Linked DNA regions of Homo sapiens: region 1 is linked to region 2. Evidence: promoter capture Hi-C in 16 types of primary human blood cells and fetal thymus (Javierre and others, 2016). All regions are on one chromosome and are shown on one strand. The core of a region is centred on a gene start or on the middle of the fragment in contact, and the rest is flanking DNA. Distances in the headings are between cores, read along the strand shown. Region 1 overlaps RFLNB (refilin B). Region 2 holds the start of TLCD3A (TLC domain containing 3A).

Evidence for each region. The method cuts DNA at HindIII sites, captures the fragments that hold promoters and counts their contacts. A CHiCAGO score of 5 or more calls a contact.
Region 1: a fragment that was not itself captured here is called in contact with the fragment with the promoter of TLCD3A in region 2 in 1 of 17 cell types (neutrophils); the score reaches 6.0 in neutrophils.

The regions. Positions count from the first base shown.
Region 1 is chr17:440,710-444,765 of GRCh38, reverse strand. It overlaps RFLNB (refilin B), which reads left to right. Exons shown (of 2, transcript NM_182705.3): 2 at 1,272-4,056. The coding sequence ends at 1,602. Among named protein-coding and RNA genes, the nearest start is that of RFLNB, 3.2 kb to the left of the region's middle. The HindIII fragment of the contact is 3,632 bases long and covers 893-4,056 here.
Region 2 is chr17:730,472-734,204 of GRCh38, reverse strand. TLCD3A (TLC domain containing 3A) reads right to left here and starts at 1,609. Exons shown (of 5, transcript NM_024792.3): 1 at 1,436-1,609; 2 at 1,024-1,107. The coding sequence starts at 1,557. LOC124903893 (a long non-coding RNA gene) reads left to right here and starts at 1,825. Exons shown (of 2, transcript XR_007065572.1): 1 at 1,825-2,026. RefSeq lists silencers at 1,193-1,292, 1,363-1,632, 1,653-2,132. The HindIII fragment of the contact is 13,049 bases long and covers 1-3,733 here.

The DNA of each region.
Region 1 (4,056 bases), core at 1,459-3,958, 290 kb after region 2:
CCAGGAGGTGGAGGCTGTGGTGAGCTGAGACCACCCCACTGCACCACTCCAGAGTGGGCGAGAAAGCGAGACTCCATTTCCGAAAAACAAAAAAAAAAAAAAGAAAGAAAAGAAAAGAAAACTGACTCCCAAAATTAAAAGAAGGACTTGAAAAAATTAAATGCCTGAGGAACACAGATGCTAATTTATCTTATGGAAATCAAGATGATAATTGGCTTTCATTGATAAGTCAGATACCCAGATATGTAGGTTTAGGGAGGGTCCCCAAACCAAATGCCAAGGTGAACAAAGTATTAATATTTGGTATAGCCAAACTTTCAGAACCAGCATTCAAGGTTTCTGGGTTCCTTTATCCTCTCATTAAAGAGCTGATAGGGTGGGTGCGGCGGCTCATGCCTGTAATCCCAGCACTCTGGGAGGCTGATGCAGGAGGATTGCTCGAGCCCAGGAGTTTAGGACCAGCCTGGGCGACACAGGAAGTCCTCATCTCTACAAAGAATAAAAGATATGTTGTTTAAAAAAAAAAAACACAAAAAAAGAGGCCAGGTGCAGTGGTTCATGTCTATAATCCCAGCGTTTTGGGAGGCCAAGGCAGGCAGATCACCTGAGGTCGGGAGTTTGAGACCAGCCTGGTCAACATGGTGAAACCCCGTCTCTAGTAGAAATACAAAAATTAGCAGGGCGTGGTGGCGGGCGCCTGTAATCCCAGCTACTCAGGAGGCTGAGGCAGGAGAATCACTTTAACCTGGGAGGCGGAGGTTGCAGTGAGCTGAGATTGCACCACTGCACTCTAGCCTGGGTGACAGAGCGAGACTCCATCTCAAAAAAAAAAAAAAAAAAAGAGGAAACGGAGGCTCGGAAGAGTGAAGTAACTTGGCTGAGGTCTTAAGCTTGTGCGAGTGGGAGCAGGATCCAGGGCTGCTGCCCGCAGTGGCTAACAGTGATGTGGGGCCAGCTTTGGAAGCCTGCACCCCTGTATTTAAATCCCAGCTCCAGTACTCAGTGGCGCTGTGACCTTCACCTCTGCACCTCGGTTTCTTCTCTCAGGGTCGTTGGGGAGATTAAATTGGATCCCGTAAGTAAAGTACTTAGACGACGGGTACCTGGCACATAGTAAGTACTTTATAGACTCTGTGACCCTATGCTGCTTCTCACTGGGGCGGCCACGTTTCTACATGTGCACCCCACAAATGACTCACGGTCACAGTGGGGACCCCAAGCCCCCGGCTCAGAGGAGCGGCTTCACGCGGCCTCTTATGTCTCCCGCCCAGGTACACCTCCTTGGTCAAGTACGACTCCGAGAGGCACTTCATCGACGACGTGCAGCTGCCCCTGGGCCTGGCGGTGGCCTCCTGCAGCCAGACGGTCACCTGTGTCCCCAATGGCACGTGGCGCAACTACAAGGCCGAGGTGCGCTTCGAGCCACGCCACAGGCCCACCCGCTTCCTCAGTACCACCATCGTGTACCCCAAGTACCCCAAGGCCGTCTACACCACCACCCTGGATTACAACTGCCGCAAGACGCTGAGGAGGTTTCTGTCCAGCGTGGAGCTCGAAGCCGCGGAGCTCCCGGGCAGCGACGACCTCTCTGATGAATGCTGACCCAGCAGGCTGGGCTGGGGTCGGACCGGCTCTCCCGCTGTCCTGCCCCCGACTGCCCTGGCCAAGCTGGGCGACCTTACCCTTCACGTCATTCCAGCCCCAGAGGAGTCTAACCTAGAGATACCTCCAAGCGCGGCCGGGGGAAGAGAAAAAAAAGAAAAAATCACTGCATCTCATAATTATTGAGATCTTTGTGTTGTAATTTTCAAGCTGTTTTTAGAGGGAATATATGTCCTGGTTTGCTGCTGTGTTGTTTCCCCAAAGTCTCAATCAGATGAGGCAACAAAAAGACCACCAGAATTGCAGGAAAGCAGCAGCAGTCTGGGATAGGGAGGGGGGAGGAGAGCTCTCCCTCCGTGGTCAGTTTGTCAGAAGAAAAGCATGGAAAAAGTGAGATTTAAGAAATCTCAGCCACGGGTGTCTTCACTGCACAAAAGTGGTGCTAATTCAGTAAACAGTGACACCTGTGTGGGTTCAATCTGTGGAGAGTTGAGTTCCATTCCTTTGTTTTTAAATTTCCACCTCCATTTGTGTTTCCTATTAACCTAAACTCTTGTAATTCTCTAAATCTTTTTTCATGATATAAAAAAAAAAGAAAATCCCAAACCACAATTTAAGATGCCTTTTTTTTTTAAAAAAAAAGGTTCTCCGTGTTGCCACCTGCTCCGGGAAGGCCAGGCCGATGGGCGGCCAGGTTTGGGAGCAGCGGCTTCGGCTCCGATTGCTTCCTGACGGTCAGTTCCAAGCACAGGCTCTGAGAAACGCCTCGAACCCTTGGTATCTGGTGACCGTCTCCGCAGGCTTCCGTGAGTCTCCGATAGGTGTTTTGGGCTTTTGGAATACTTTCAGAATACTTTCCCATTTTTTCATAAGGCAAAACGGAGTGGACGGCCTTTTTTTGAGAGAAACAGCATTCTAAGAGTGTGCTTGGAAAACACACTTTTTGGGAGTCCACGTGGGGAGTGGACACTCAGGACAGGAAGCGGTGGCCCTAAGACCTGCGGCCACCCGGAGGAGGCAGACGCAGGCGATGACCTGGTTCATCATGAGAGGAGCTAGAGTTGACTCAGTCTTAGGATCTCGATGGCGTCAGAATTGCAGAGGGTTTCTGCCAGTGCCTTAGGTCTAATTCAGAAAGCAAGGAAGGCTGGGCACGGTGGCTGGCGCCTGTAGTCTCAGCTACTTGGAAACTGAGGCAGGAGGATCTCTTGAGCCCAAGAATTCGAGACCGGTCTGGCAACATAGTGAGCCTCCATCTCTAAAAAAAAGTGGCAAAGCTGAGGAAATCTGTGCCCCCATCCCCCGACACCAGACAAGCTAAGGTGCATTCAGAGTAGGGAACGATGTCAAAACCTGGCCGCCGTGGTGGCGCGCATTCCTCTCACACCACCGTACGGAGGCAGGTGACAGTCAACTGAAATGTCCCCAAGGACCGTGTGAATTCGGCTGGCGTGGCCCAGCAGCGGGGTGGACCAGGGTGCGGTGGCTTCAGACCTGCCTCCCGCCACCCCGTCCTCCCCTAACCCCTTCTTGGGACCTCCTGCCAATCCCTGTGGTGTTTGAGTAAAGAAAGTGGCTGATGGTTTTACTTTTTTCTTCCAATATTGGAAAGAACAAACTAGATATTCCCCTTGAACACATCCAAATTATTTCCAGTGCCTGAGGGTTACCGAGCACTGTAAGCTCAGCTCGGCTGTAGCTCCGGGTTTCTGCCGATGGCCTCCATCTGCGCCGAAAGCTGAACTGAGCCCCGCGGTGCCCCGGAGCCACAGCAGCAGGTGCAGCGACAATCGCCGTCGTGCGCAGTCGCTGGAGTCCTGGAGAGCCACGCTGTCCTCTGCAGACAACAGCATCAGTCCGCTGTGCCCCAATGCATCGACGCCCTGTGGACGGGGCCTGCAGTCCACCCGTGGTCTGAGCTTGCCGGGCTGAAGCTCGGCTGGGACCCAGGGAGGGGCCACCCTGGGACCCACAGTCTCCTCAGTCACGTGCAGAGCAAAAAATGCTTCCTGTGTTTGGAAGAGCAAGTGACGCAGCATTTATTGATAAAAATGGATTTTTCTGTCTGATTTCATGCTGTGGTCGTTTAAGTGGTCAATGTCTTTTTTTTTTTTTTTTTTGACATGGAGTCTCGCTCTGTTGCCCAGGCTGAGTGGAATGGCGCCAACTCAGCTCACTGCAACCTTCACCTCCCAGGCTCAAGCGACTCTCCTGCCTCAGCCTCCTGAGCAGCTGGGATTACAGGTGCCCACCACCACGCCCAGCTAATTTTTGTATTTTTAGTAGAGACGGGGTTTCACCATGTTGGCCAGGCTGGTCTCGAACACCTGACCTTGTGATCCACCCGCCTCGGCCTCCCAATAATTTGTAAGTTATGTTAGCGGGATCCTCAAGGCCTTGCTTTGCCCCGTGGAGACGCTTGCTCGGATGAGCTCAGGAAACAGTACCGGCTGC
Region 2 (3,733 bases), core at 360-2,859:
TTTAAAAAAAAAAGAAGAAGAAGAAGAAGAAAAATTGTACCCAGCCACACCAATATTAACCTTTGGTGTCTACAATCGATGTCACTTGATCTATCGTAGCATCTACTTATTCATCGCCAATAGCCAGTTTTGTTTTTAAAAAGGCAGAAGAAAAGCACAAAAATCATGACAGCAGGATTGATCCCAGGTAAGACCGCAGGCTAGAGTGAGACGGACAGCTTGCTCAGGCCCCTCGCAGTTCAGTCTCAGCAGGTGAGAAGCAGGACTTGGCAGAGCCCACAGGAGAGCAGGGCCTGGAAAGGCCGTTCAACTTCCTGCACATCCGACTGTGGTCCTTCAACTTGGGAGAAAGTGAGTGTGATTCCAGCAAGACCGGTGGGGAAAAAAAAGGCTTGAAATAATAAAAGCACCACCATTGTCCAGGTCTAACTACTGTACAAAGTCGACTATTCTGGTCTTAATTTATGATTTGTTTCACTGGAACTGCAGATAGGTGCACATTTCCTGACCTGCCTCTGGACTGACCTCTGATAGACGTACAAGTCCGTGTTCTAAGCGCTGGGAACCTCTCAATCACCTTTAGCAAATCTGCAGGAAAAGCAAGAGCGGCGTTTGCGTGGAAGGGGGTGGTGGGTTGGTTCCTTTCCATGGAGGGGGCTCTGCTAACCACACTGGACGTCTGTTAGCCAGTGATGCTCCAGAGTGAGAACCCAGTGAAGCCAACTGCAAGAATCAAGCCACACTCCCAGTCGTAAATGCTTCCACGCTTATCTCTTCCATGAAGGACCTGGATCCCTGGCTCACACCACCTGAAATCAGACTCCGACTCTGTCGTCCTCCCTCATTTCCGTGGACTTTCTCCTAAGCTGGGGGTGCCCGAAGACTCCGGAGAGGAAGAAGGAGCCCATTGTGGTGCCAGCTTTTCCCATTAGTCAGCTTTCTGAGCGCGTGTGCTGCGAGAGCCAGAGCCTGCGAGCTACTGAAATGTGACATTTGCAACAAGGCCCCGGCCCGGGCTCTTACCTGCCGGTGATCACGTCGTCGCAGGAGCGAATGATGACGATCCCCGAGCCGGTGGCCAGCACGGCGTGCACCGAGGAAACCAGCCTAGCGCGGGCGGAGAGAACAGCGCGCGCGCTCAGTCCGGTCCGAGGACCGCAGGGAGCCCGGCCCGGCCCTTCGGCCTGACTCTCCCCAGCCGCAGGCAGATGTGGGGAGCGGGCTCCGGAGGCTCATCGGCCATTCCCGCCCGCCCCGGCCCCGCTCCCGCCAGGGGAGGACGCGGAGGGGCTTCGGAAACTCGGGCCGCCGGGACGCGGAGGGAGCAGCCCCCGGGCTTCCTGCCGCCCCCCTTTTCCGCCCTGGGCCCCGCGGCCGGGTGGGGTGCGGTGGGCAGCGCCCCGGGCCTCGGGGGGCGTCTCGGCGGCGCCGGTACCTGGTGCTGATCATCACGCAGTCGGTGCGGCTCCATCCGGGCTGGGAGCGGCGCAGCGCCCAGGTGCAGAGCGCGAAGAGCCCCGGGAAGAAGAGCGCGCCCCCGGCCAGCGTCAGCAGCATCGGGGCTGCGGGTCCGGCCGCCTCGCTGGCGCCGCGTGGCTGGGTTCGGCTCGGCGCGCCCCGGCCCGGCCGCGCGATTTCAACCCTCCGCCCCCGTCCCCGTCCCGCCTCCGCCCGGCGCTGGCCCCGATCCCGCGGCGCGGCTCTGCGCGTGACCAGGCCCGGCGGCTGCGATAGGGCGGGGCGGGGTCTCTCGCGGTCCCTGGGCCCGGAGGGTTCCCCGGCGTCCCCGGCGGGCGGGTGGGCGGGGGCGGAGGCGGGGACCGAGGCGGCGGCTGTGGCCGGGGCCGCGGCGCGCGCGCGTTCCGAGTCCGCCGCTCCCTCCCGAGCGGCCGCGGGGCCCAGGCGGAGGCGGGAAGGGCCGCGGCTCCCGGCTTCTGTTCCGTCAGCGGACGCGCCCCTCCCCGACCTGCTCTTCTCGCCGGCCCCGGGCGAAGGGGCGGGGTGGGCGCGGGGCCGAGGAAGCCAGGTAGGAACCCCCTCCGGGGTGGGGCGAGGCCCGCGGGGAAGGAAGGAGGGAGGCGGCGTGTGGCCCTGGGTTCGCGGGCCCCGTCCACCAAGCCCTGGTGCTTCTCGGTGGGAGGCCTCAGGATGTGGCCTCTCCCCGCACGGCCGAGATGCTTTTCCCGGTGCCGCCAGCGGCTGCAGCCGCTCCGGGGTGGCCCTCAGGAAGCGTGAGGTCCGGGGGCCTCCAGCAGCCCCTCTCCACCTGCACCAGGAGGCGGACTGTGGAGGCTGCAGGCTCTTACTGCCTCTCGGCTTTGGATCTATCCGGAGACACCATCCAGAGGCGTAGGGACTGTGGTGTTGTTCACAACGTGTCGTTATTTAAAAGTATCGGGGTCGGGCGCGCCTGTAACCCCAGCACTTGGGGAGGCCGAGGCGGGCAGATCACTTGACGTCAGGAGTTCGAGACCAGCCTGACCACCACGGTGAAACCCCGTCTCTACTAAAAATACAAAATTAGCCAGGTGTGGTGGTGCCTGTCTGTAGTCCCAGCTACTCTGGAGGCTGAGGCAGGAGAATCGCTTGAACCTGGGAGGCAGAGGTTGCAGTGAGCCGAGATCACGCCACTGCACTCCAGCCTGGGCCACAGAGCAGGACTCTGTCTCAAAAAACAAACAAACAAACAAACAAAAAAACAGTTATCGGGACAGGCGTCTAAACTTGAATGAATTGGAATACATTTCATTTGTGCCAAGCACCAATCACATGGATGAAGACAGGAATTTCAGTATCATTGGCTTCTGTCCTTTAGGAACTACCAGCTTTATTTTGCTTTGGTCTGTATCTTCCTCAGCTAACAAACGTAGGGGGTGGGAAATACAGTTCATTTATGTTACTACAAATGAAAGGTATGACGGGTCTCCTCAGATCACCGTCATGCAAAATGCTGACCAAAATCCCGTATGAGGACTTCGGAACAGCTGGGCTCGGCTCTCTGGGCCACGATTTGCTGGTCCGTGAAATGAGAGGGAGGCTGGATCACTAGCTCTTTAACGGTCTTCCAGCTCTAGATTCTTATGAGTCTATGACTTTTACAAAGTGGCAGATGATTTCTGTTAGGTGCCAGTTAAATTACTTTAACACGGCAGTTAGTGATGTAGGAACTGGTGTAGAGTGAGCACAGCTTTTGTTTTTTTCAATTTGGATTCATTCATGATGGAGTCTGAAGATGTTTCTCAGGTTTAAAAGATAGTTTTCCTTCAGTGGTAGTATCAGTTACTAGGCTGTGACCTTTTGGAATGAATGTAGCCTCTAACATCTTCCTATATGTGGTTAAGAAAAGGGACTTAGCCAACAGGACGGTGGCAGACAGCCTCAAGAAAAGCCTCAAACTTCGTCCACTTAGGGCAACATCTCTAACTCCCAAATTCACTGCTGACATACTCAGTGAAAGGAGAAAGCCACTTCAGGTTGGTCCCAAGATATCTGACAAATGCGACGCTCTCTTTATTTTCACATTCGCTTGTGGACAAAACCAGCTACCTGTGAACTCTCCATTCTCTCCAGGAAAACGACTCTGTGCAGTCCACTGTCTCTTTCCTAAGCATTTATCACAGTGACCTCCAGCGCCAGTGTTTCCAGAGAGTGACAGGTGGTTACAAGTCCTCCCTGCCTTCCCTCCTTAAAGGGAGCAGCAGCTTGGCAGTGAGTATGCTGGCACCTTTGAGTG